Linked DNA regions of Homo sapiens: all the other regions are linked to region 3. Evidence: promoter capture Hi-C in 16 types of primary human blood cells and fetal thymus (Javierre and others, 2016). All regions are on one chromosome and are shown on one strand. Each heading gives the region's core, a stretch centred on a gene start or on the middle of the fragment in contact. The rest is flanking DNA. Distances are from core to core; before and after follow the strand shown.

Region 1 (7,045 bases), core at 177-2,676, 1.9 Mb before region 3:
CCCAGTGGTATAGTTATGAGTGTTTGTTTTACAGATGAGGGTTAAGTAACTTGGCCAAGATCATGCAGCTTGTTAAGTAGTGGGATCAAGATTTGGACCCAGGCAGTCTGGCTGATTGACCAGACTCTGCTAATAATGAAACAGTGCTGGCTAGAAGATCATACTCAGAACTGGACGTTGCCTAGCAAATAGTAGATTTTTCAGAAAGTGTTTTGATACTTCTTAATGCCTGGGTTATGATGTCCCGAGAGAAAATAGTTAGATAAGGATGTTATCTTGCTGGAATGTGAGCTCCACCAAGACAAGGAAAGGACCTGCAGGATTTATTTCAACCCATTTGTAAGAAAGTGAGAGTACTTCTCTCAGAGGTATAATTTTAAAGTGTGATTTCTGTTGTAGAGTTGAAGATCATATTTTTGAAACATAGAGATTGTTTTAAAAATGTAGAAACAATGTTATAGTTTCCTAAGATAGTGTTCTGTGAAGAGAGGTGGTTCATGGAAGCTTTGTTCCTCCAAATAGTTTTGGATGAAGGACTTTTCCTCTGTTCCACTCAGGAAAGTGTTCCTACTGAAATTTCATTGTCTTTCTGGAACAAATAAAATATTATTGTTTAAAAGGTTTTTCCTTCAGTTGAAAATAAGATTTTGTTGAGTAATACTGTGTGTGATGATTAGTTTTATTATGTCAGCTTAGCTAGGCTATAATACCTAGTTATTTAATCAGATACTAGTTTGGTTGATGCTATGATGGTATTCTGAAGACGTGGTTAACATCTATAATCAGTTGACCTAAACTAAAGGATATTACCCTAAATAATGTGGGTGGACCTCATTCAATCAATTGAAGGCTAAAAAAGCCAAAACTGAAGTGTCCTGAAGAAGACAGTATTTTCCTCAAGACTGCAGCATCAATTCCTGCCTAAGTTTCCTGTCTGTAGATCTACCCTACACATTTTGAAGTTGCTATCCCCTACAGTTGTGTGAGCCAGTTCCTTAAAATACCAATATCTCTGTATCTGTCTATATGTAGATGAAGATATTTATGTTTTTATCTACATCTATATATTTTTTCCTATCAGTTCTGTATCTCTGTAGAGCCCTGACTGATTCAAATTTGGGTGCTGAGAGTGCTTCTAGTGAGCAGAATCTTAAGGATGAGTTTTCTGAATTGATTATAGTGTTTCTGGAATTGGTTTTCCAAACTGATCAGATTCAAAGGCAGTAATGAGTATTCCCTGTAGAAAAGAGGGCACTGATAGTCCCTGGTGTGATATGGCAACAAAGATATGCAAAAGATCACTATTAGATACTCCCACTCATGCTTATAGACAAGATTCAGAATGATCAGGTATTTGATACCTTAGAACATTTTAATCGAATTAATGAGTACAATAAGATAGGCTGGTTGCTTTTAACTGTACTGGGTAAAGTGAGAAAAGAAAAGGATGATCCCAGCTACTCAGGAGGCTGAGGCAGGAGAATCGCTTGAACCCAGGAGGCGGAGGTTGCAGTGAGCCGAGATTGCACCACTGCACTCCAACCTGAGTGACAGAGTGAGACTGTCTCAAAAAAAAAAAAAAGAAAGGAAAGAAAAGGGGAGCTTAAGGCTTCAAATTCCCGATTGAAGCTCCACATAAGTGACCTGAAAAGTTTCTGTGTCTGCCCTAAAGAAACCCGTATCTCTTGTAGCTACAGAGCTGAGGTTGGTGAAAACCAAATCCAGAGTCTTATCCTGTAGGTGGCTGAATTACAGTGCTAACTGAATTCCCTTCTCACCTTGGTCTGCTATTAAAATGAGGGCATTGATTGGGAAGGAATGGGATCTGCACATTTGGAATAGGGCCATATGGGAACATCCTGATGAAGCTGGGGATGTTAAACTCCTAAATTTGACTCACTCTTTTTTGCCAGTAGAAGCAGTTCTTCCACCTCTGAGGAGGTTAACTCTGCTTTGCCTGAAGAACCTGTAATGACCTCCCTTGAGGTAGTTACCTTGCAAGACATTGCCGGTTTTCCTCAGGAATCCGTGAAGAGCTCTGGGGTTGCTTTTCTCTTCAGGTCAGAGATTGCAGTGGGAGCTGTTGCCACTGACTGGGGGTCCTTAGCTGCAGCAGGGATGGTTGGATCTAGGATGGCAGGGGCTATGTGATCACCAAAGAGTAAGTAGGTGTGTTGCCATCATGGGGGACAGCGGAGTCAAAGCAACAATCTGAACAGCCTGACTTGGGGGTCCTAATTGGGTAGGTGGTCATGGTGTCCCTAGAAGAGAACTCGTTGGGCAGTCTACTGAATTCTGACTTGATCTCTATAAGCAGAAGAGTTCTAGGTCAAGTGAATGGAAGCTTTACTTTAATTACCAAAGAAAGAGTCATGGTCCCTCAATCAGTTCCCAGATTTGAGTCATTTTACAGACTCAGAACCCCCTGACTGAGGGGAGGCTGGATCCTTTTGAGGAAGGACCCCATTGCGCTGCTAAGAATTTATACCGTTAATTTTTTTCTCAGGTTTCCCAAAGGGACCTATGGCTTATCAGGGTAAGTGTGCACTGGAGAAGAGGAAATAATTAGACTTCTCACAGATTACTGAACTCTTAAGTCTGAACTGACACTAATTCCAGGACACTCAAAGTGTCATTTTGGCCCGCCATTCAGAGTAGGGACTTGTTGAGGTTAGGTGGTCAATGGAAGTTTAACCCAGGTTCTCCTCACAGTGGGTCCCCATATTCATCCTATGGTTACTTTGCCAGTTCCAGGATGCATAACTGGTATAGACATACTCAGCAACTGGCAGAATCCCCACACTGGTTCCCCGACTTGTGGAGTGAGGGCGATCGTGGTAGGAAAGGCCAAGTAGAAGCCACTAGAGCTGCCTCTTCCTGGAATAATAGTAAGCCAAAAGCAATACCGCATTCCAGGAGGAATTGCAGAGATGAGTGCACTTAAGGATGCAGGGGTGATGATTCCTGACATATTCGCATTCAACCCTCCTGTTTGGCCTGTGCAGAAAACAGATTGATCTTGGAAAATGACAGTGGATTATCATAAACTTAACTGAGTAGTGACTAATTGCAGCTGCTGTTCCAGATGTCATTTCATTACTTGAGAACCTATCCCCTAGTAACTGGCATGCAGTTATTGATCTGCTGAGTGCTTTGTCTTAGTATCTGTTAGTAAAGATCACCAAAAGCAGTTTTCTTTCAACTAACAAAGCCAAAAATACACCTTCACTGTCCTACCTCGGGAATGTCAACTTTCCAACACTATGTCATAACAAGATCTCTGTGATCTTGTTATGAGTTGAATTGTGTCTTCTAAAAATTTATGTATTGGATTCCTAGCCCTTAGTACCTCAGGGTATGACCTTATTTGGGAATAGGGTAGTTAAAAATGTAATTAGATAAGATGAGGTCATACTGGAGTAGGCTGGGCCCCTAATCCAACACAACTGGTGTCCTTATAAACAGGAGGAATTTGAACACAGACATTCACACAGGGAGAATGCCATATGAAACTGAAGTAGAGGAACACCAAGAAATGTCACACATTTCCAGCAAACCATCAGGAGCAAGGGGGTAGGCATGAAACAGATTCTTCTTCACCCCCTTTGAAGGAACAAACCCTACTGACACCTTGATCTTGGACTTCTAACCCCAGAGCTGGAGACAGTACATTTCTGTTTTGTAAGCTCCTCAGTTTGTGGTTCTCTATTACAGCAGCTGTAGCAAACAAATAGAGACCCTGATTGTGCTTCCCTTCCACAAAACATCATACTGGCCCATCACATTGATGACATTATGCTGATTGGACCTGGTGGGCAAGAAGAAACAACTACTCTAGACTTACTGGTATGACATTTGCATGTCAGAGGGTGGGAAATCCAACAAATATTCAGGGGCCTTCCACCTGTGAAATTTCTAGGGGTCCACTGGAGTAGTGTAGGGCATGTTCCCACCTATAACAAAAAGAGAAGCAAGGTTTAGTGGGCCTCTTTGGATTTTGGAGATGACAAATTCCTCATTTGGGTGTGCTACTTCAGGTTGTTTACTGAGTGACCTAAAATACTGCTAGTTTTGAGTGGATCCCAGAACAAAAGGCGCCTCTACAACAGGTACAGGCTGCTGTGCAAACTGCTCTGCCACTCAGGCCATATGACCCAGCAGATCTTCTGGTGCTTGAAATGTCAGTGGCAGATTGAAATGCTGTTAGGAACCTTTTGCAGGCCCTATAGGAGATACAGTGTAGAACCTTAGGATTTTGGAGCAAAGCCTTTCCATCCTTTGCAGGTAACTGCTCTTTTAAGAAACAGCTTTTGGGCTTGCTACTGGGCTTAATAGAAACTCTACGCTTAACCGTGGGCCACCAAGTTATGCAACCTGACTAGAAAAATGACTAGAATATTTCAGCAGTTAAGAGCACAAGCAGATGGCATGTGTTCAAATCCTGGTTATGTTATATTTACTAAGCATGTCATCCTTGAGTAAGTGGCCAAACTTTGTGTTTTGATTTCCTCATGGAGCGATTTTATAGAATAAATGAGATGATACAGTGCTTAGCACAGAACCTGCTAATTTTTAGCTTCTCTTAACACAACTGAAACTGCTACTGCAATGTCTTGTGAAGTCATTAGTCCATGCCTTTAAATGTGATTGTAGAATTTTTTTGCCTTGGTACAGCAGAAAAAATAGAGTGATTTTTTTTTTTTTTAATTCATGTAAACCAGAGCAGAAGTTTGAAATAGTGAACAGTCTTGTAGGCATTATGTGCTTTCAGGTTCTGAGTTTATTACTTCTGAGAATTAACCATAGTAGCAGTGGTCTATGACCTCTGTGGGTGAAAGGGTGGCTGGGCTTTAAGCATGTGCAGCAGTGGGCAAAGAATGGAGGTGAGGGAAGAGGCATCAGACATTAGGAAGGGATCCTCCCGGAGAAGTGGAGGTGGGTGGTTAGATTTTGTGGGTGCCAATGGCAAGATGAGTCCTATTAGAAAGTCTCATTGATAAGAAAAAATTGTTTTCAAGGCAGACTTAAAAATTAGGGCTTCCCCATTTTTACTTACTTCTTCTACATTGCCTTTGTAACTTCTTGGACGTGATAAATTGAATTAAACGTGGTATTTTATTTGGATTTCTTGATTTTTAATGTAAGCATGAATTATAGTAACTCTTCCTTGCTATCTGAAATACTGCAATTCTTGTTCTAGTTAAGCTGCATTGTAATTTGACTCATTTCTTAAAATTAGAGGAATTAGATAAACAGTGATGGGTTTGCAATGTAGTGTTTGCCAAATGAATGTCATATATAATGTTAAGAAAAATTTTATTTGTGTGGCACACTTTATAAAATAAAGCAGACCTATGTCAAGTTCTAAATGCAAATTTTTATTTTACTTTTCTTGCCATCTTCATCACTGTAAATGCAAGTTTTTAAAAAGATATTTTAAAATTGGACCCAGAATACAAGAGCTCTTTATTGCAACAATGGCTTCTGGTACTCTGATGATCAAATGACATTTTCTGAAATATGCTTGATACAGTAAACACTGACAAAACTAGTTAACCCCACAGAGAAGGTTACTAGTATTTTTCACCAAAGCCAAGCTGAAACAGGTTCTATTGCGATTTACTTGGTGTAAAATATATGTATAATTTCTCATATGTCTTTTTTTGGTTTAACAAACATAGTCCTTATTCATCAAGTAAATTCCTATTGCTAAGCATGTTTTAGTTAACTAGTAACAATAAATTTATGTTAAAACTGATTTTCATGATAGAAGATAGAAATGAAATTTATATAGTTTGGCTCTCAATCCTTTATTTTCAGGGAAAAGACACAATTTATACATATGAGCAATTTGTGAAGATGTGGGAAATTCACTAGATTAGCAGTTCTTTTTTCTTTTTTTTTTGGCCTTTAATCAGCTATGTGATCAGGAACAAGTTATGAACTATTACATGTCCTTGCATTCTTTATCTGTAAACATAAAGGATGATACTAAGGGGCCTCTCAGTTTCCTTCCAACTCTTAACATTCTGTAGTTCTAATGCAGACAACTATGACTAAACCTAAGGTTGCTGCTTTTATACAGTTGTACTCAGGTTCTGTGTGGCCTTCCATTTTTGTAGTCCCTGTAACAAAGACTTTGAGAAGGTAAAAATAATCCTTACTCATGCAGTGGGAAGGTTTCTTAAGGAGAGTAGGCTTGTATTTTCTGTTGCTGTGTAACAAATTACCCCCACATTTAGCAACTTAAAACAACACAGGTTTATTGTCTCACAGTTTTTCTGGGTCAGGAGTATGGGCACATCTTAGCTGGTTTGCTGCTTAGCATCTCAAAGTGTCAAGCAGGCTGCATTCTCATCTGGAGGTTCAACTGTGGAAGAATCTGTTTGCAAACTCATTGAGGTTGTAGGCAGAGTTCATCTTTTGTGCCTATATGAGTGAGGGCGCTGTCTTCTTCCTGTTGACTGGTGGCTTCCCTCAGGGACTAGAGGCTGTTCCCCGTATGCGGCCCTGTCCGTAGGCAGTTCATCATACGGTACCTTGTTTCCTTGAGGCCAGCAGAAAACTCTGTCTCCAGTCTGCTAAGATGAAGTCCTTTCCATCTTTTCTACCATTTAGTCTACTATACCATAAGTCTTTTCTCGAGCCTGTTAGACTGCTTTTTAAACCTGACATTCTGGTGCATTGGGCCCTTGCAGTTTTCATGCAAGTTGATTAACCTTTATGTTACCAAATGACTCACTGGAGTATGCTTTTTGCTCTCTAATCCATAATTCAAAATGTATCTTCCTCTTATTCACTTCTCTGTACTTTATTTTTTTGGCAGACTTTTGATAGTAGATTTCTAAACATTCTGTATTTTTCCTTTCTTTTCACAGTCTGTCATGCAGCTGACCAACGTAAGTCCAAAGTGCTTTAGAATTCGAGTAATTCTGCAAACCCTGCTTTGTAGTTAGCGGTGCAGTGGTGAAGTTCAAAACTTAGACTTGGGCTGGGCACAGTGGGTCACACCTGTAATCCCAGCACTTTGGGAGGCTAGGGTGGG
Region 2 (6,825 bases), core at 732-3,231, 1.9 Mb after region 3:
CATGGGTGACAAAGCGAGACTCCATCTCAAGAAAAAAATGAAAGAAAGAAAGAAAAGAAAAGGAGATGTCTGCTGACTAGTAAATATAAAAGGACCTGAAGTAAGGAAATTATCCAAAGCCCAGACCTTTTCTTAAGTAACACACCCATTTAACCAAATCCACCTTCATGTTAATATCCTGAAAGACCTAAACATATCTACCATACGTCCTCCTCCTCCATCTCTCTCACACACCCCCAAATAAGATGCATTTCGTCCTCATCCAGACATCCACCGTTTCTCAAATAGCACCACCATTTCCCCAGTTATATAAGCAGAAATCTCAGACATTCATACCCTTTTCTCTCAGTGCACATAGAGACCACCAAGTCTCACAGATTCAACCTAACTTTTCATCACCTCCAATACCATGACCTCAGTCCAAGGGGTCACCACTTGCCAGTACTGCTGCAGCCGCCTAATTCATCTCTTTCTCCCCTCTAGTATAATTTTACATTGCTACCAGAATTATTTTTAAATGCAAATGTGATGTTATTCGATTCCCTCCATCTTTACTGCTCCTCCCCTCACTTAAAAACCCTAGTGGCTCAGGATAAAAACAAAACTCCTAACTTGACCTACTAAACCAGCACTACATTCATCTTGACTATTTTCACCACTGCCACGCCGACCTCTTTCAGTATGGTAAATGTTTCACAGTCCCTCCTGCTACCGGATATTTGAACATGCATTTTCCTTTCTTCTTCACCAGGATAACTTTTACTCATTGTTGGAATCTTAGTTCAACTGTGACAGCCTGATCGAAGACCCTTATTTTACATTCTCGTAGCACTATATAGCTCTTCAGGGGTACACTTTATTCTTCTGATTATTTTATTAGTATCTATCTCTCTTGTTAGAACTGCCCCATGAAAACATGGCTTGTGTTTCACTCACAACTGTAGTTCCAATATTTATTCATCATACCTGACATGTAGCAGATACTCAAATCTAATCAAATTAGATCCATAATTGAATGAATTTTAAAAATAAATGAATTTGGAAGTAGAAACACATTGAAGTGGACAAAGGGATTATGTCAAAAATAGAAACACAGATTTTAATTATTAGATATGCATATTGTTTCTGGTGTGAGTAATCATGATGCCACTAAAAAATAAAAATAAAGCCAAGTGCAATGGCTCAGGCCTGTAATCCCAGCACTTTAGGAGGCCAAGGCAGGAGGATCACGCAAGGTCAGGAGTTCGAGATCAGCCTGGGCAACACAGCGGCACCCCCATATGTACGTAAAAAATTAGCTGGGCATGGTAGCATGCACCTATAGTCCTAGCTATTCAGGAGGATCACTTGAGCCCAGGAGGTCACGGCTGCAGTGAGCCAAGAACGTGCATGCCACTGCACTCCAGGTTGAGCAACTGAGCAAGACCCCATCTCAAAAATAAAAATAAAAAATATGGGAAGAAGAGTAGGCATGGGTAGTAAAAATTTTGAGATATTTTGAGTTTAGAATATCATATCTGTGCAATATTCAAATCTAAATAGTGAATAAGTTGTTTGAGTATGTGCTCTTGACTGACGGTAAAATGTGAATTAAAACAGACTTGGGGGTGTAGCAATACCTGCAGAGAGCAAGGAAGATAAAGAGAAAACCTCAAAACAATGAAATGAACAAAGAAAGTTCACAGAGTGAGATAAATGAAACCAAATCAGAATCTCAGAAACATGAGCATTTGAGGAAAATGCCACAAATAAGACAATAAATGGAGCAAATAAGAAAATTAGAAGACAATGCTGTTATAGAAGCCAGAAGAATTGAGGGTTTTTTTTAGAGAAACTGTCGGTACTGTCAAGAGCCAGGGGGAGGTCAAGTAAGATAAAAACTGGAAATGATTAAGTTAGCAATAAGTAGTGAGAGGATAAAAGTACCGTGGACTAAGGAGAGAATAAAAGGTGAGTAACTGGAAAAACAGTGAATATGGACTATTTTTCCAAAAAGTCTGAATGCAAAGGAAATGAAGGACAGGGAGAGACACATACTAGAAAGAGTTATGGTCAAAGAAGTACATGTCTGCTCATTTGTTTTTAAAATCAAAGACTCTGGTGTATTTATATGTTAAAACAATGCAGCCAGTGATTGAAAACCAGCAGGAAAACATCTCATGGAACATGGTCTGAGTCATAAGGAATTTTACCTTAGCCAGCAAAAATAGAGGAACAAAGAACCTTGGGTATGAGCAGGGTTTTTCTTTCTCAGGGAAGAAAGTATGGATGTGTACAGACTAACAGGTGTTACAAGAGGAAGGCACATCATGGAAGAGATGGTATGTCTTACTGAAAAAAAAAAATCTGACTTTTATTCTGTGAGCAATTGAGAGTTACCTAAAAACTAAGGAATGGAGTAATATATGATTAAAGATTACATTCATGTCTTTAGAGCCCCAGGCGTTTTGTATAGCCACTGGGAAACATGAAGAGCCGACTGGAAACACCTAAAAATGTGCTAAATATCCATCCAGAGGAGTATTCTCTAATTTCCCCCCCGCCCCGTGCTGCTTCTATGCAGATGCACTAGCTGATGTTAACACCATACGTCCCTCGATCCCTCAGAGAGCTTAATTTTCTTTGTTGATTTATTGTTATCGGCCACTCTCAACATAAGGATTTTGGTTTATTTTCGTCTCTCTCTGATCATTAAGAATATATTTGAAATTTATTTTAGCATTTTATAAACTTTCTTCTTCAAACTTTTCTACAAAACTGCTAATAGGGGTCAGGTGCGGTGGCTCACGCCTGTAATCCCAGCACTTTGGGAGGCCAAGGCAGGCGGATCACCTGAGGTCAGAAGTTCGAGGCCAGCCTGGCAAAATCCCGTCTCTACAAAAAATTCAAAATTAGCTGGGCATGGTAGTGCATGCCTGTAGTTCCAGCTACTCTGGAGACTGAGGCAGGAGAATTGCTTGAACCCGGGAGGCAGAGACTGCAATGAGCCGAGATCGAGCCACTGCAACAGAGCAAGACTCCGTCTCAAAAAATAAAAAAATTTAAAAAAACTGCTAATAGGTAGAAAAATAAAATGTGTAATACATTATAAATGGAATTTTATCATGTAAAAAATTTTAAAGACAAAAAAAATCTTTCACATAAAATACCAAGTTTCAAATCTGAAATCTAGGTAAAATTACTTCCAAGGTTTAAACAGAATTTGAAGTAAAGCAGCGTCTACTTCTTTTTCTTTACTAACACAAGTGATCTACTTCAGAATTCATTACATCGTAAATGCACTTTTATATGTTAACGACTGTATAAAACAAACTTTTTTTTAAATACTGAGGTATACAGAAAAATGTACTGAAATAGTTGGTGTCTGCTTTTGCAAAATTGTGCAACATACTGTTAATTCATCTTCAAGATGCTTGTTAGGTGTATAAAAGAAAAACCATCCAATCTCAGAATGATTACCTGAGTCACTCCTGGAGAAACCATCTCAAACTCAGAATCAATAACTAAAATAAACCTACTAGAAGATGACAAAGAATTTTGCAAAACTGTCTTCTAAAAGTCCTTCACTTAGAAAGTTTTGAATGACTTAGGGTAAGTCAGTTAAATGATTTTTTTCTATCATAAACTAAGCCCAAGTAGACTGTACATTCTAAATGAATCTCCTCAGTGTTGAACTGTGCATTTAAATACACAAAGGTTTCCATCAAAGCCAACAATTTACCTTTGACTAAAACGATAATATTAAGGAATCAAACACCAAATGTCACCTCCCAATCCTCCCCATCATCTCCATCTTTAAACTGAAACACACAACAAACTATTGGGCATTTAAGTACCAGGCATTCTCTCACAGCAGTGTGTTTACTCAACCACTCTCTTGGCCTAAACCTCCCCTGAAATGAAAAACAAGCCTTTTCCTTAAATGCTTCCTAAGGGAGGGATGGGGCACATAGAGAAAGGGCTTCTTTCCTCAGACACGGTTGTGTCTCTGTTATACCATCTACACACCTTTTCTGCTTCCCTGGCTAGTCTTATTTTTACTGGCAACACAAAAACAATGAGTTCTATAATCATAGCTGTAATTCTCCAACACCCCCAAAAAAGGAAATATATGAGTAAGTCACTGTGTAGGGCTTTTGCTTGTTTTTTAAACTTGCTTCTCCACTATTATTACTCCCTTACTATAGCAACATAACAACTTCCCTAAGGAGAAAACTTCAAACTCTGTGGACATTTCCTGGCCTAAAACTGGTTGTAAAGGCTTATAAATCCCTAATGGCAATTTACACATAGTTATCCAGTAGAGGAAATGTTCACTGTAAACACAGCCAATCAAAAGATAAAAACGAAATATTAAAAAAAAACACACCATACAGATTTACATTAAATTATCTCAAGATAATGGCTGAGTCAGGACTCTTCATAATTCCTCAAAGGTTTTCCCCCAGCTACAACTACGTAAAAATCACACAACTTACATAAACTTGCAATAAAATACATTCACTGCACCTTAAAACCAAATCCTTACCCAACAAGTAGCTCACTTACACTTCTATTCAAAGAAATTTGTAAACGCACTAAAAAGCTTGCAATGTAGTTATGCAATATTAATCTCATAATTCCAGAATATATTTTAAATTCCTAAACCTGAAGTTTTTCCTATGGAAAACAATGTAGTTGGCTTTCTCTTGGACTCAGCCTTACACAACAATAAAGGATTTAATTTTTTCTTTTAGCACTAGAATTGCTATACACCTCACAAAAATTGTTCTCATTCAACAATTGAAATACAAGACATAGACTTCCAAAACGGGACTCACTTTACACTTAACTAAAGATAGGAAGGAACCTACTTTCTATTAGATGTTCACACTCTTTCAGTATTCCTTAAAAACAAAGAAAAAAAATAAAAATCTGTACATTTTAACTCTCTTTCCTAAAGTACACTACATATTGACAAGGAAACCGACCAAAAGCCCCTGGGATTCTTCCAGGATCACCAAGTCAGACTAAAAAACTTATCACAGGCAGTACTACAAAAACCTACAAAGTTCCAGAGCTGGGTGACACCTTATCAGCCTTCTCAGGATCTGTCGGAAACCGCAAACGTAAAAGCAAAAAAGTCACACGCACTGAAGGTTTCTCAGCAGAGGAGCTCAACTAAAGGGCTAAATAAAAGCACGCGGGTGGCACACTGAAATGTCGTAGAAGGCAGGAAGCCCCGCTACTATGAACCTACAACTCTCCGTTTGCGGCTGACGCATCGCTCCTGCCCGCACGCACCTGGGTCCGTGCCAACAGCACCGGGCAGCCCTCGCCAGGCACCTCCAAGGACTCTCCACCTCCCCGGCGCGTCCTACACCTGACGGCCGAGTTCTAAACCTGGCGGAAAGGTGACAAGCGACGCCCTCCGCGGAACCCGAGGGCCGGCTGCAGCGAGCTCTCCCCGGGCCGGGGCAGGGGTCGGGGGGCGGCTCTCACTCCCAAGGGGTCCCGCGCCGTGCCCTAGCCTCCCCGCGCCGCTGACAGCCGGGAGCGGGCGACAGACGCAGCTTGCGCCACCTCCAGAGCCCACTCCCCGCCGCAGCCCAGAGCGCACGCCCTCGGGTGCCCAGCCGCCCACGCCCCGCCGAAGCACGCCGTCGGCCTCTGGGGCCAAGGACGCGGGCCCAGGCGGACCGCGGCGCGGGCGGGACCGGACGCCCAGGAGGCGCCCCCGCGGGACCGCAAGATGGCGGCGGCGGCGGCGCCAGGGCCGGGCTCCCCTCCGCCTCGCCCCGGCCGGCGCGCGCACCGCAGCGAGGGCGGGCGGGAGGGGATGAAGCGGGCCGGAGCAAGGGGCAGGCCGGCCGAGGTGGCGGCAAGAAAGCAGCCGGGAAAGGGAAGGCGCCGGGGCGTGGGGGAGGGGGCGCTCCCTCGGGCCAGGGCCGCGGACGTGCCCTCCGCGCCCCCCCGCCGACAGCCAGCGGTCCGCGCGCCCCACCCCACCCGGGGGTGTCCCCGTTCTGCCTACCTTTGAATTTGAGGTCTGTGGGCGGATCGAGGACCAGGATCTGCTCGTGCTTCGCCATGGCCCCTGAGGCGGACGCCATCGGAGAGACAGCGCAGAGCGGGGGCGCGCCCGCGGCGGCGGTTTGCTGACTGGGGGCGGGGGACGACGGCGGCGACGGCTCGGCCGAGCTCTAGGACGAGGCCAGGCTCGCGGCTCCCGAGCCCTAACGCCTGCCGCTGTGTCACCGGTTCGGTGGGCCACCCGCTGGGTCAGCAGCTCCGGGTCCCACAACTGACTCAACCCCACACCAGCCGCCACGGCCACGCGCACTTGCGAGCCTCGGCGACCCACGTGACGGCCTCTGCGTGCCTACGTGCGCGCCCCCGGCCGGGAGCTTCTAGCGCTTGTCCCGCCCTCCAGGCCGGCCTAGCGCGGCGCGGGGCTGCTGCGCCTGCGCGCTCGCGGCTTGCCGCGGCCCGGAGCGCAGCCCAGCTGTCAAGGGAACGGGTGTGGAAGGAGGCGGGGCAAAGGTCCGCGGGACCGACGCGATGCGCAGCGCAGGGCTGGAAGCGCAGTCCTCTGTCACCTTGAGCTCCGAGTACGGAACTAGAGAAACTGCTCTGGCAGCGCATCACACTCTTCCAAGTGGGAATGCCCAGTGGAAGGGACAAGTAGTAGTAGGGAAGCGCCCACTCACTACAACTCCCGGCATGCCCCCTGCGGGGCGGGGCCTTCGCCGAGGGCCTGGCCCTTTGCGGCCCTGCGCGGTGCTTGCTGGGAACTGTAGTAACGGCTGTTTGAGGGTGGAAAGGAGAGCTAGGTCTGTTGGAGGC
Region 3 (7,557 bases), core at 1,071-3,570:
TAACAAGTGTCCCTTAAAGCACACTTCTGAACAATGTCCAGTCAAATATAAAATAACTTAAATATGAGGGTCACTCCTCATCTGCACGCACCTGTTACACTTTTTTTTTCCTTACTCATTTACACTGGGAAACATGTTATAATAGTGAATAGTTGGTTATGAATCTTTCAAAGAACTTGGAAGGGCCCCTATAATTATTTTCTGAAACAATGGAATTCTCTTATGGAAAAATCTTCCAGTGAAGGAAAGGGTAAGTTAAAAAAAACTTGAATTAACTTAGGTTAGCATGCTTGCCAAGGCAAAAGCAAGTTGCTTTTCTCCATGTTTCGAGGCTATGAGAAAGCGGTGGATACATGCTTTACTTTTCAGCCAGAAAATACGCACTGCCATTCCTGAGAAGATGGCAGGCAGCACAGCTGGGCTCTAGCCTTAAAGACTCAAGCTTTCTCCTTCCTTCCAGTCCTACCTCTTTACTTCTCAGATTTCCAGCTGGCTGGATGTATACATAAATGACTTGCATGGCTAAGTAAAACATTCCAGCTTATATTTTCAAGGATTTCCAAGAGTTCTTGCTTTTGGACAAATTAATAAATGCAAATTAGAACTTAAAACGCAGTTCTAATTTTATTTCTATTTTTGGTTGTTAAAATCAAAACAAAACCTACACACACACAGTCCTAGGGTTTTCTCAAACGAAATCAACAGTTCTTTGGCAATGTTAAGAGTGTGTAACATGACTGCCATGCTAATTAGCATAATTTATAAGACTTCTAATAGTGTTGAAACAGGAAAATAACTATAAACTTGTTAGAGAAGTTCGTTTGAAAGACACTGTCAAATGTCACACTAAGTCTTTTTAAAAACTCAATTTAGTAAGTAGAAAATATAAATGAACAAATTTAATTTTTCCAGATAATAAAGGAAGTTATTCGGCATTTTTCCCAGTTACGCAAAGACAATTATCACGTGAAAAATTTATAGAATGTAAGCAGTAAGAGAGTATTATGCAAAAATATCCTAAGGTAATTTCAGTATAAATTATAGGACCACATTTATTAATAATATACGTTATGAGAACAATCATTTGCAGTCTCACTGTGAAGGCAAAAAAAAAAAAAACAAAAACCAAAACCCAAAGGATAAACAGAAATAGCACAGTCCACCGAATACACTGCATGGTGTTTATAACTGTATAACCAAACTAAGTAATCTTTCCCCTCTCTTTAACTTTTATGCACCACCTGCCATTCTAGATACTATCAATCACACTAAATAATAATAAAAACCAACCACCTTCAATCTGATCATTCTGGGCAGGAAACTGAATACAGTTTTGACCAGATCTTCGAGAAAGATTCATATACACGAAATTAACTAGTTCTGTTAAAAGGCTGCTATAAAAATACCATCATTACGAGCTATACAGAACTTTAGAATCCAGCTAAGAGTGCAGAAATACTGAATTTCTTAATTTATGTGGAGGGGGCTGTAAACCCAAAGGTAGAAGGGCATTTCAGCATTCTGGCGTGTTCAGAGTTTCTAGGGTATAGTATCTCTCTAACACACAGAGAGCATTTCAAAGGGTGGCTATGGCCAGGAAACCTCAGAGCGGGTTCTGCCGTCACACTTGATCCCGAAGGCGGGCCAGTCTCTGAGACAGTTCATCCTGCTCCGCCGAAGCCACGCTCGTGCCCACGGAGCCGGTCTGGCCCTGCGGCAGCTCCATGTTGAGGTCGAGGCCCGCCTCATCTGCCATTTCCTGGAGCAGCATATCCACTTGGTTCTGGGGAGTGGTGAGCGTCGTCGTGCTGCTCATCGTGTCTTCCATTTGCTGCGTCTGGACGTCCAGAGTCTCAAACTGGTGCTCGAATTTGTCCATCAAAGCAGAAATCTTCTCCAGATTCATGGTCTTCAATGTCGCATCCATCGACTTAACCACACCAGCCATCGACTTGGTCACCTTGCCCATCGTCACCGCCGTCTGGACCCTGGCAGCCACTGCATCGACTCGCGCACTCATTCTCAAGAAATTCACCGCCTGGTTCTTCTGGCGGATGGCATTTTCGGCGTGTATCCTCGCAACTTCCATGTTGCCCTTCTGAATGGCCTTTTTAATTTTGGCCTTTTCGGCCTTTTCCTCCTTATCGCATTTTTTGGCACTCCTACTCAGTTCTTTGGCCGCGAACTTCAGGTTGAACAGGTGTTTCTCCATGTTAGACATAGTCGGACGGCTCCTTTGGGTCGGCGGCCCGGCTGAGAAGCGCGCCGAAGGCAGAGAAGGTAAGGTAAGTCCGCTCCCGGCCGCCGCTCCTTTGTTTTGGTCCCACTTCCTGTTTCTACTGTGAGCGGCGCAGGTGGTGACGTCAGAGCCCAGCGCCAAAGGCGGAGCCTGCGGGACGGAAGGCGCCGGGGTGGGGCCTGTGGGACGTAAGACGCCAGGGGCTGCGCATGCAGGGGGATTCTGGCTGGACGCTCCGGCGCTGCGGCGGGGAACGCTCGCTTCCTGCGCTGCGTTCTACCCGGTTTTTAAAATTCTAACGCATTAGTCAATTCACAAAAATTAGTGCCCCCACGCACTTTCCTAGTAATAAATCTACCGAAGTAGACAGGATCTGTGGAGACCCGCGTGTAAAATTACCCACGCTCCAAACTTGGCAGGCTTTATAAAGGGTGACTGGCTAGCGGGCTAAAAACCAGCCAAACATCAGCTAGGTCTTCGCACTAACGCTTGCTTTATTAGCATGGGTAATTTCCACTTTCTCAGGGGAACTGGAAACCATGGATACATTAAAAACAAAAACATTAAAACACATTAAAAACAAACGGGTCATTGACGCGTCTCCATCTTTGACTACAATTTGTGCTAGAGTTCTGTAATATCCTTTTATTGCATTGAGTGAAAATAATCTTCAAAACTGTGGCACCACCAAATTTATACTTTGTCTGGAAGTTCAGCTTCTAGGTGAGTTGCCAGCAATTATCCAAAAATCGTCCCGTGGTTTAGTAATAAAAAGACCCATCTTTTGCTGACACCATTCTGTCTTTTTGATGTTTTATAAATATCCAAGGAACTTCACTCACATTTAAGTTTGACAGGCTAAACTGTCATTTTAAATTATGCAGGCAGAGTATGTTGAGATATCAGGACCCACACCCACGGGCATACATCAAAACTGTCACTATGTATTACGCCCTTTAAAAATGCTGGCTTTCAAATGGCAGCAATGTGTGCTGTCACTTTTCTCTTTAGAAAGATTCCTCCGATACAGCAATAACAATGTGAGAAGACCAAATCTGCCCTAATGAGGTAGGCTGAAAATGAACTCTGAGAGCGAATTCTGTTTAGAGATCATTTTAATCTAGCAGCCTGCCACCTCGCTTAGCTTCCTGTGATAGCTTGCCAGTCAGTTTCACAACACAAGACCTTCTGAAGACATAGCTCTGATGTTTTCACTCTCTTGCTCCAAACCCCGGGCATGGAGGCTAAACCTGCTGTGCAGCATGCTGGCTCGTCTTTCGCGCCCCTCCACCTCCGCCAGTCAAAGCAAACCGCAGCATGGAATTTGAGCATTATTTGCGTCATTCGGCCAGCGGGGAGAATGTGACTGACGCCCGGTCCTGTGGCTATGCTGTTCCTGTTGCCTGGATTTTAGTGTCCATGCATCTCTGCCTATTGACACCCTGCCAGTCCTTCAAAAGCCACCTTCACCATGGAGCCTCCCCAGGACTCCTCCTCTGTGTGGCCATACTACAGGGCACATTGCCTGGCAAGGGGTCTGTGTGTATAGGTCACCTGTTACAGTGTGAACTACTTGGATGCAGACACTGATTCCTTCCCCTCTCCATGGAGCCCAGCAGGCGCTCTGCACACAGCAGCCACTGAATCCAGATGGCGTTGCTGAATTTAATTGTATTTCAGAGGGGATAGGATGTTACCCTAGTTAGCAGCTTAGCTATGGTTCCTTTTTGCCCCGCAAAGCAGTAGAACCCTTTTTCCAAATGAAACTTTTCTAGAAATGGAATATAAACAACCAAAAAAAAGGGGAAGAAATCTGTTCAAAGTGGATATAGAGAGCTTAGGCCCCCTACTCTGCTCACCCTCCATTCCACTCTTCCCTTCTTTTAGGTCCTGGTTTTTCTTGGAGTTTGCAAACAAGTTTCTTATCCAGCTTCCATGTCATGCTCCATAGTTTTCTTTTTTCTTTTCTTTCTTTTTTTTTTTTTTTTTTTTGAGATGAAATCTTGCTTTGTCACTCAGGCTGGAGTGCAGTAGTGTGATCTTGGCTCACTGCAGCCTCCCCCTTCTGGGTTCACGCGATTCTCCTGCCTCAGTCTCCCGAGTAGCTGAGATTACAGGCACACGCCAGCACTACCGGCTAATTTTTGTATTTTCAGTACAGCTGGGGTTTCGCCATGTTGGTCAGGCTGGCCTCGAACTCCTGACCTCAGTTGATCTGCCCACCTTGGCATTCCAAAGTGCTGGGATTATAGGCGTGGGCCACCGTGCCCAGCCCATAGTTTTCTTAATGACAAATTCTGACTAGGTGAGATGGTTTGGAATATAATCATGAGAGACTCCGATAGATGATGATGATAATGACAACTAACATTAATAAAGTACTTATGCACCAGACATTGTTCTGGGCACTTTACATAAATTAACTCATTTCAGCTTCGCAAACCCTATGAAGTAGATACTATAAATGTCTCCAGTTCACAGGTAATGAAAAGGAAGCACAGAGAGCTAAGAAACTTGCCTGAACCCACACATTAGGTAAGTGTTAGAAACCGGATTCCATGGATGTATTGGGACCAGTAATAAGGCAATGGGGAATCCAATGAACATGAATTAATAAGAATAAAATAATGATCATCATGTAGCCTAAAGAAAGAAGTTGACTTTCCAGCTGTTTTTTTGAGAAGACAGAGTTGCATTGACTGCAAAGTTAATATGAACTTTATAAAGTGTGGTTGTTGACTGGGCATGGTGGCTCAGGAATGTAATCCTAGCACTTTGGGGGGCTGAGGTGGGTGGATCGCTTGAGGCCAGGGGTTCAAGACCAGCCTGGCCAACATGGGGAAAGCCCGTCTCTACTAAAAATACAAAAATTAGCTGGGTGTGGTGGTGCATGCCTGTAATCCCAGCCACTTGGAAGGCTGAGACAGGAGAATCGCTTGAACTGGAAAGGTGGAGGTTGCAGTGAGCTGAGATCACGCCAGTGCACTACAGCCTGGGTGACAGAGAGAGACTCCTTCTCAAAAAAAAAAAAAGAAAAGAAAAAAAAAGAAAAAGTATGGTTGCTAAAAGAAGTTGCCATCACCTGAAGCTACATTCCTTGGATGATGACACCTCTACTTTCTGTGCTGGAGAGAAGGTATAGGTGGAGTTCCAGAAGCCATCTTCCCAGAGAGACCAGGGCTGACTAGAATTCTGAAGAGAAGGCTGTTCTCCTCCTCTCCCTGACAGTTCCCCAGCCCTGCCCTCTTCTTTCTCTTATCAACACCCCAGCCATTTCCACGGTGTTCAATAGGATCCATAGCTAACTGCTCTCATGTTCACATTTCCACGGAGAGATTTGCTTCTGAGCTCCAAACCCATATGCCCAGCTGTCTCCTTGGTGCTGGGCGCTCTGTGGCCCAAGACTGATTGGCAACTCCTCAAAGTGACTGAACTCAGTCCTTTCCCCCAAATCTGCTCATTCCCATTTACTACTGGCACCTCCATCTACCTTGTCATTCGAGTTGGATTTGGAAGAATTATCTCTGACCACCGTGGTATCTGAATCTGCATCTACCCTGGCTCTAAGTTTTTTCCATTCTTTATATTCCATTGAGGTTGACAACCTTCAGGGTCTGTTTCAGCTTGGTATGCTTTCTCTTTTTGTGTATCTAGCAAAAGGAAGATTATTTTGGGATTATTATTAAAGGAGGTTTTGGTCCTACAACCATGCTAATTGTACGTGAAAATGTTTTGGACCCAATACAGATGTGAAAACAGAACATACAGTTTATAATGACTGGAATTGTTTAGCAACTACCACGTTAACATTGAAACCTTGCAAGTCCCATAGCCAAATTTTCTTAGTGAAAAAAAAAGAAATTTTTGATTAAAGTGCAGACATTTCTAGAAAGCTGCGGGTCAAACCAGTTAATTATTTTTATCATGAAATGGGGAAGAAAAATATGCTATCATTTGGCACATCTGGCTGATTTCTTTCCTTACTTTGAAATAATACAAGTGGTTAAAATGAAAATATTTAAGCAGGACATTCAGTTTTACTTCACTGGAAAAGAATCATTTGCTAAGTCTGAAGTCACTCAAAAAAAAAAAAAAGAAAATAAAAGATGTGAAAAATAACTTTCTCTTGTGAGTTAAACTATTTCTGGATTCTCATCAGTATGTTTCTGGTGATTTTGAAATGTTATATCTCAAACTAAGGGCTCCTCCTACTTATCACAGTTTGCATTTTTTGCATATATTTGTGTTTGCTGAGCAGCAGGCTTTCCTATTAGGTGTGGCATGGTGACCTCTGGTTGACTACCTATACCTGGTACTATTCAACCTCTGGAAAACAGATACCCAATAAATTTCTGTTGAATGTAGGAATATATGAATGTAGCCAAAGGAAATGGCATTGGATACATATTCACTTGGTGACCATTTTGAGGAATACATTACATATATGTATATATATATTATACATTACATACATATATAATATTAATTTATTACACATGTATTAAATGTATGTATATATATATTTTCCTCTGCATCACCTTTTTATTTGGGAACACAGCTAGAATTAAAAACGCTGAGACTCCTCAAGCCTTGGGAAATTTCAAAGTCACTGTCCAGGGCTGGGTGTGATGGCCGATGCCTGTAATCACAACACTTTGGGAGGATGAGGCGGCCCAGGAGTTTGAGGTTGCAGTGGGCTATGATGGCCCCACTGCACTCCATTCGGGGTGACAGAACAAGATCCTGTCTCAAAAACAACAACAACAAAACAAAACCAAAGTCACTGTCCCTCAAAATATGTTAACAACAGCCTGGACAAGATGGCAAGACCCGGTCTCTACAAAAAATAAAAAATAAAAATTAGCTGGGCATGGTAGCATGTGCCTGTAGTCCCAGCTACTTGGGATGCTGAGGTGGGAGGATCTCTGTGTCCAGGAGTTCGAGACTACAATGAGCTATAATCATGCCACTGTATTCCAGCCTGGCTGACAGAGTGAGTCTGTGTGTGTGTGTGTGTGTGTGTGTGTGTATATTTATATATATATTTATATTTATATATTTATATATGTATTTATATATTTATATATAAAAAAATGATGTCGATTTAAAAATAAAAATAAGAAAGAGAAAGAAATAGAACAGCAGCATGTAAACAGAATTCTGCATTCCTCCATCTGCAGTTTAAATGCACGGTTTATTATTCCTCTTGGTGATGTGGTGAGTTAATACTGTTATGAGAAACCTAACTTCCATGTTAGTCGAAGTTGGCATTCACTCATTTAGCAACACAGTGATTCTCCTCCTCCTTCTTTACACTG
Region 4 (7,144 bases), core at 3,240-5,739, 1.1 Mb before region 3:
TGCACAAAAATGTGAATGCTGTGCTCTATGCCACTGAATTCTACACTTTAAAACGGTTAACGTGGGCCGGGCGCGGTGGCTCACGCCCGTAATCCTAGCACTTTGGGAGGCCGAGGTGGGCGGATCACGAGGTCAGGAGATAGAGACCATCCTGGCTAACATGGTGAAACCCTGTCTCTACTAAAAAATACAAAAAATTAGCCGGGCGTGGTGGCGGGCGCCTGTAGTCCCAGCTACTTGGGAGGCTGAGGCAGGAGAATGGCGTGAACCCGGGAGGCGGAGCTTGCAGTGAGCCAAGATTGCGCCACCCCACTCCAGCCTGGGTGACAGAGCAAGACTCCGTCTCAAAAAAAAAAAAAAAAAAAAAAAAAAAACGGTTAACGTAGTTTATTACAACAAAAATAAACTTGTTTTAAAAAAGAAACTACATCTTTTAAAAATTGCAACACTATTTATAAAAAGTTTATCTTTGAGAGATCACTGGTATCAAACTCGAATGTGAAAAAGGATAAACTATCCTTCAGATTTCCAGTTACTCTGGAGTTGTCGAGAACCAAATAATCCGCACTCCAGCTTTCATTCATCCTGCAACACATCTGGGAGGTTCCTAAATCTCATGTAGCATCCCCACATTAGAAATTCTGCTTGTAGGCCGGGCGCGGTGGCTCACGCCTGTAATCCCAGCACTTTGGGAGGCCGAGGCGCCGAGGCGGGTGGATCACGAGGTCAGGAGTTCGAGACCAGCCTGGCCCACATGGTGAAACTCTGTCTCTACTAAAAAATACAAAAAAAAAAAAAGATTAGCCGGGGGTGGTGGCGTGCACCTGTAATCCCTGCTACTTGGGAGGCTGGGGCAGGATAATCGCCTGAAAGCGGGAGGCGGACGTTGCAGTGAGCCGAGATCGTGCCATTGCACTCCAGCCTGGGTGACAGAGTGAGACTCGGTCTCAAAAAAAAAAAAAAAAAAAGAAAAGAAATTCTGCTTGTCGGAAGTGTCTACAGACGTTTACGGGAACTTCAAGAAACAAACCCTCCGATTCCTGGGCAGCAAGCAGGGAAATCATTGGATGTAAATGGTTTGTATTTTTCTTCCTCGGCGTAACAAAGTGAGCTTCTGCTCTGAACCCACGGAGAAAACCATGTGCCCTGGTGAGAGAACACCGGCGGGGCACAGAACTCGACGCAGCGCCAGCCAGGCAAAGTCTCCCACCAGGTCCCACTGCAGGTCGTCGGGTGAACAGCGCGGGCAAGACCCACGACGCCGAGGCTGACGGTGGGATGCCCCTGGGTTCCCGCCCGCAGCCCCGGCAGCGCGGCCTGGGAGAGGGCCCGGCGTACCCTGCGGGCGGGAGCGCGCACGTGGCACCAGCTGCGCAGGCGCACGGGAGGGCGGCCCGCGAGGCCGCCGTGACCCCACAATACGCGGGCGGGGAGGGCTTCCGCTCAGTCCAGCCAGGGCTCGCCCGCCACCCCACAGCTTCCAGCGGCGTCACTGAACCAAGACACAGCCCCGTTCCCCGCGCCGCCCACCCACTCCCCTTCCTTCCTTCCGGGGTCGGCCCCGCCCGCAAGCGCCGCGCGCACCTTAACGCTCTGATCGCTGGAGCAGGTTGCCATCCGCCGCCCGTGGAAGTCGAAAGAGACATCGTGGATGAGATCCTTGTGGTCCGCCGCGATGCTGCGAGCCACAAACATGGTTTCCGTCGGGCCCGCGCCTCCGAAGAGGACAGTGGCGGCGGCAGCGGCGGCGGCGCGTGGCCCGTAGCCTAGCCAGACCTCGCAGCCCGGGAGCGCACGGCTTGTGCTGCCCACGCCCCCGCACCGCCCCTGCCTATCAAGCCCCGCCCACACACCCTCCGGTCCTTCAAGCCCCGCCCCACCCACCGGCCCGTCAGGCCCCACACAGTCCCCTGGCCCCTCAAGCCCTGCCCACGCCCCGGCCCGTCATGACTCGCCCCACCTTCCGGTCCCTCAAGCCCCGCCCCGCCCCCAGGCCCGTCAAGCCCCGCCTACCCTCCCACCAGAGCCGTCATGCCTCGCCCCACCCTCCCGCCCCCTCAAGCCCCGCCCTGTTCCCGGCTCGTCAATCCTCGTCCCGCCCCCGGCCCGTCATGCCCTACGATCCTGGTGCGGGTTCCTCCAGGCTCTGACCGTTCGGCGGCGGAGGGTGCTCTGCAAAAGGCGAGTTACCTGTGCTGAGAAGTAGTAAGAGCTTATTGGTATACTGTGCAAATGAAGAAAGATGAAAAAGTGAAGACTGCCTCTCACGGTCCTCGGCCCTGAATCATTTAAGTCGACGTTTGGATGTGTTTCCCCCCAGACACATGCGAGGCGCGCGGAGCAGGTGGAGAAGACGAACCGTGGGTTTGGTCAGGAGCCGCGCTCCGTCGGGACGGCTGAAGAGCAGGGAGGGCCGGGGAGACGCCTGAGGGGATGACAAGCAGTCCAGGCTCGGCAGCCTAAGAGCGAAGGCTGGACGGGGAGGAAAGGATCAGAAGTAGTAGTTTAAATGTGTCAAGATTTTACAGGTAGAACAGGCCTGGGGGTGCTAGGAGCCACCACGGGGGTAGGGAAATAGTATGAATTAGAAGAGTCCGCCTGTAGAAACGTGTCATCCCGGGGGAAGGAAGCGGCCGGGGAAGTGGGCTGCTTGCTACCCGGGAGCCAGAGTCCTCCGGGGAAAAGGAAGTGAAGAGGGCCAGAGCCCCTGGGAAGAGGCCTGGCTCAGATCAAGGATTCTGCCAAAACCGGAAAGTGGAGGAGCCAACGACTCGGGGGGTTTTGCTTATCAGGAAAAGGCATTCTAGAGGGCGTAGTGGTAAAGTTAGGATGGGAGACAGTGGAAGCTTGCGTCAGGGGAGCGAAAGTACAGAAAAAAAAAAAATGAGGCTGCAGAAGGGACTTGCCCTTTGGATTTTGGCCAGGAATGACAAAAATGTGAGGTATGGTAAAATTAGCAGGCTGGAAAGTTTTTTAAATGATTAGTCCCAGCTGTCCCCTGATGGATTGCACAGAAACCTGCAAAGAGAAGTGGCGCAATGACCTGACCTTTTTCAACCATAAATAAGATTTTATTGCTACTTTAAGAGGTGGGCCCCACCTCTTATGATAACTGATAACAACTATAACTTTTTTGAAGGTCAAAGACACTCATTTCCAAAGAAAGTGCTCACTATAAAAGTCCAATCAAAATATATTGATTATTATAAAAATATCAAAACAGTTTAAAAATTGTTTTAATTAAATTTAAATACAGACAGTAAACAGATCATTGGTTGCCAGAGATTATCAGAGTGGGAGTGAAGTGTTGAATTAGGTGAAACAGTGGATTTTTTAAAATAGACTTTAGTTTTTAGAACACTTTCAGGTTCACAGCAAAATTGAGCAGAAAATAGAGTTCCCGTATGTACCCCTACTGTCACACATGCACAGCATCCTCCACTGTCAACATCCCATACCAAAGTGGTACCTTTGTTATGATCAGTGAACCTACATTGACACATCATTATCACCCAAAATTCAGAGTTTGCATTAGGGTTCACTCTTGGTGTTTTATTCTGTGGGTTTTGGCAAATATATAATGACATGGATCCACCATTATAGTATCACGCGGAATAGTTTGACTGCCCTGAAAATCCTTAGTGCTCCTGTTCATCCCTTTCTTCCGACAACACCTGGCAACCGCTGATCTTTCCACTGACTGCATGGTTTTGACTTTTCCAGAATGGCATATAATGGGAATCTTGGAGTGGCTAGCCTTTTCAGATTGGCTTCTTTCCTTATAGTAATATGCATTTAAGCTTTCTCCATGTCTTGTCTTGAGAGTTCATTTCTTTTTAGTGCTGAATAATATTCCATTGTCAGGCTGTAACAGTGTTTATTCATTCCCCAACTAAAGGGCATTCTGGTTGTTTCTGTGTTTGGGCAATTATCAATAAAGCTCCTACAAACATCTGTGTACAGGTTTTTGTGTGGACATGTTCGCAACTCCTTTGGGTAGATACCAAGAAGCATGATTGCTGGATCATATTGTAAGAGTAAGTTTAGTTTTGTTTTTTGGGGTTTTGTTTTGTTTTTTGAGACAGGGTCTCACTCTGTCATGGCAGACAATCGTGGCTCACTGCAGCTTTAAATTCCCTGGGTTCAGATGATCCTCCCACCTCAGCCTCCCGAGCAGCTGGGACTACAGGCACAGTGCCACCACACCCAGCTAATTTTTCTGTTTTTTGCAGAGATGGGGTTTCACCATGTTGAGCAGGCTGGTCTCAAACTCTTGGGCTCAAGCGATCCTCTTGCCTTGGCCTCCCAAAGTGCTTGGATTACAGGCATGAGCCACTGTGCCTGGCCTGGTTTTATAAGAAACTTACAAACTGTCTTCCAAAGTGGTCGTGTCAGCCAGGCCTGGTGGCTAAATTACCCTGTAATCCAGCACTTTGGGAGGCCGAGACGGGCAGATTATCTGAGCTCAGGAGTTCAAGACCAGCCTGGGCAACGTGGCGAGACCCGCTTCTCTACTAAAAATACAAAATAAAAATACAAAAAAATGCCCCAGGAGTGGTGGTGGAACCGAGATTGTGCCACAGGACTCCATCCTGGGCAACGCAGGGAGACACTATCTCAAAAAAAAAAAAAAAAGAGAGAGAGAATTTAACACAGGAAACTGGTTACATATATATCCAAGGGGTTAATTAAGAGCAAAAAGGGAACATGTGAGATTACCCAGAGACTAGTAACTACGGGAAACTCTGGGCTGGGAGCGTGAAAGGGAAAATAGTTTTACCCAGTGCTACCATCATTGACTCTGAGGCTGCTGACATTGGCACCTTTACCACCAGCAGGCAGAAAGCCAGGAGCCAATACTCCAGCTTACACTGCAGGCGTCCAACAGAGTAACAGCCATGGGAGCCCACAAGCTCTGAACAGCTGAGGTTCCTGGAGCCTCTGCTAGTACTGCTGGAGCTAGGGCTGAGTGCTGCTGCTACTGCTGCTGTTCACATCACCCCCGAGCAGGAAGCCAGGCTCACCCATTGCCACCACCACCACTACTCAGCTATGTGAGCTGCCTCCACAAATTGGAGAAAAGGTCTTCTTCCTCCTGCATCTGAATCCCCTACTGTCTCTCAATTCAGAACCTAACTAGAAATAGAGAGCTAATAAGAGTCTGGAAAAACAAGCTTGGAGGTTTCCAGTTCATATTCTGGAAAGAATACGACCTACAGTGAAGGCTGGGCGTGGCAGCTCACACCTGTAATCCCAACATTTTGGGAGGCTGAGGCGGGCAGATCACTTGAGGTCAGGAGTTCAAGACCAGCCTGGCCAACATGGTGAAACCCCGTTTCTACTAAAAATACAAAAATTAGCTGGGCGTGTTGGTGAGCGCCTGTAATCTCAGCTACTCAGGAGGCTGAGGCAGGAGAATCGCTCTAACCCTGGAGGCAGAGGTTGCAGTAAGCTGAGATTGCACCGCTGCACTCCAGCCTGGGCAACAGAGCGAGACTCCATCTCAAAAATATAAATAAATAAATAACCTACAATGAGTTAAGAAGCTTTCACATTTTTTTTCCTGCTCTGCGCCAGTTTAAATAGCATAGGAACTGAAAGATTCCTATGAAGATTTTGTAGAAGATTCCGTGAAGATTTTGTAGATGACGTTCACAAAATTTTATCAGCCTCATGCCTTGGGTGATGATAGGTATAGTTAATTTTAACTACCTTTTAAAATTATTTTATTCATGGCCTCTTCAGATTTTTTACCTTTTGTCAAGACAATTTTGATCATTTATATCTTCCTTTAAAAAATCAGCCATTTTGTGCTGGGCATGGTGGCTCATGCCTGTAATCTCAGCACTTTGTGAGGCCGAAGTAGAAGCATTGCTTGAGCTCAGGAGTTCAAGACCAGCCTGGGCAACATAGTGAGCCCTCGTCTCTACAGAAAACAAATTAGCCAGGTGTGGTGGTGCACGCCTGTATTTCAGCTACTCAAGAGGCTGAGGCAGGAAGAGGATCACTTGAGCCCAGGAGGCAGAGGTTGCAGTGAGCTGAAATCGTGCCACTGCACTCCAGCCTGGGCGACAGAGTGAGACACTGTCTCAAATAAATAAATAATCAGCCATTTCACTGAAATATTTAAACTTATTAATATAGAGTTATATATGTTAATGTCTTGCAATTTCTAAAGTCTCCATATCTGATGTAAGGCTTTTTTTCTTATTTCCATTGCTTTTTGTCTTACTGCCTTTGTCCTTAACATTTTGCTTTTTAATGAAGTATAATATAGATTCCAAAATGTACACGTATCACAAGTGTACACAGCTCACTGGATTTTCACAAACTGAACACATCTGTGCAGCCATCATCACCTCGAAAAAGGGAGCATGACTCACACCCTTAAAGCTCTCCTGTGGTCCCTTCTGGTCTTTACACCCCTCCCCAAGCAGTAACTACCGACCTCCTTCCTAACAGCATAGGTTGGTGTGATGATTAATTTTATGTGTCACCATGGTTAGGCTATGAAGCCCAGTTCTTTGCTCAAACACTAGTCTAGATGTTGCTATAAAGGTATCTTGTAGATGGGATTAACATCTGCAATCAGTTGTGTTCCGTGAAAGGGTCGTATTAATATATACAAAGCGACCCCCAACTGCCGAAGGAGCTGAGAAACCAAAGAAAGAGGCAGACAAATCCAGTTGGTCAGTTTTGGATGATTTATTAGGGGATTATATTTTGGGGGATTTATTAGGGGATTATATTTATTGACTTATTAGGGGAACTTACAGACAGAAGTCTTGGGTCTTGCGGTCTTGAGTGGCTGCAAGACAGGTAGATCTCCACTCCACAACCCCCCAGACACACAGCTTGGGAAAAATGCATACGTGCTCTGGAAGGAATGTATAGGTGGCTGTGGGTATCACAGCCTGTGATTTCTGCAACAACAAAGGTGGTTTTGGAGGCAACTTACAATAAATAGCTCTTCCTACATAAAGAGTAATACATCAACTAGACATTTTGGAGGCATTCTCAAACTCAGGGTTAGTGGGAACTTACATGGTAGATTGGCGTTTTAAATTGGCCAGGGGCGGTGGCTCACGCCTGTAATCCCAACACTTTGGGAGGCCGAGGCAGGCAGATCACGTGAGGTCAGGAG

What was found. Contacts are between HindIII fragments. The CHiCAGO score rates a contact against its expected background, and 5 or more counts as called.
Region 1: a contact is called between a fragment that was not itself captured here and the fragment with the promoter of CHMP1B in region 3, in 1 of 17 cell types (naive CD4 T cells). The highest score is 5.4, in naive CD4 T cells.
Region 2: a contact is called between a fragment that was not itself captured here and the fragment with the promoter of CHMP1B in region 3, in 2 of 17 cell types (non-activated CD4 T cells and naive CD4 T cells). The highest score is 6.6, in non-activated CD4 T cells.
Region 4: a fragment that was not itself captured here is called in contact with the fragment with the promoter of CHMP1B in region 3 in 1 of 17 cell types (non-activated CD4 T cells); the score reaches 5.2 in non-activated CD4 T cells.

What each region holds. Positions count from the first base shown.
Region 1 is chr18:13,717,387-13,724,431 of GRCh38, reverse strand. The region is part of intron 1 of FAM210A (family with sequence similarity 210 member A); the gene reads left to right. Among named protein-coding and RNA genes, the nearest start is that of FAM210A, 5.6 kb to the left of the region's middle. The HindIII fragment of the contact is 1,840 bases long and covers 507-2,346 here.
Region 2 is chr18:9,913,524-9,920,348 of GRCh38, reverse strand. VAPA (VAMP associated protein A) reads right to left here and starts at 6,333. Exons shown (of 6, transcript NM_194434.3): 1 at 6,014-6,333. The coding sequence starts at 6,092. It overlaps LOC124904245 (a long non-coding RNA gene), which reads left to right and starts at 6,401. Exons shown (of 2, transcript XR_007066284.1): 1 at 6,401-6,637. RefSeq lists an enhancer at 5,214-5,831 and silencers at 5,349-6,138, 6,349-6,398. The HindIII fragment of the contact is 5,213 bases long and covers 1-4,587 here.
Region 3 is chr18:11,846,176-11,853,732 of GRCh38, reverse strand. It overlaps CHMP1B (charged multivesicular body protein 1B), which reads right to left and starts at 2,320. Exons shown (of 1, transcript NM_020412.5): 1 at 1-2,320. The coding sequence starts at 2,221. The coding sequence ends at 1,622. The region is part of intron 5 of GNAL (G protein subunit alpha L); the gene reads right to left. RefSeq lists a silencer at 1,609-1,903 and enhancers at 1,910-1,959, 2,228-2,467. The HindIII fragment of the contact is 8,099 bases long and covers 445-7,557 here.
Region 4 is chr18:12,942,673-12,949,816 of GRCh38, reverse strand. SEH1L (SEH1 like nucleoporin) reads right to left here and starts at 1,806. Exons shown (of 9, transcript NM_001013437.2): 1 at 1,585-1,806. The coding sequence starts at 1,695. RefSeq lists an enhancer at 626-1,227 and silencers at 1,159-1,258, 1,269-1,618, 1,659-2,108. The HindIII fragment of the contact is 1,374 bases long and covers 3,803-5,176 here.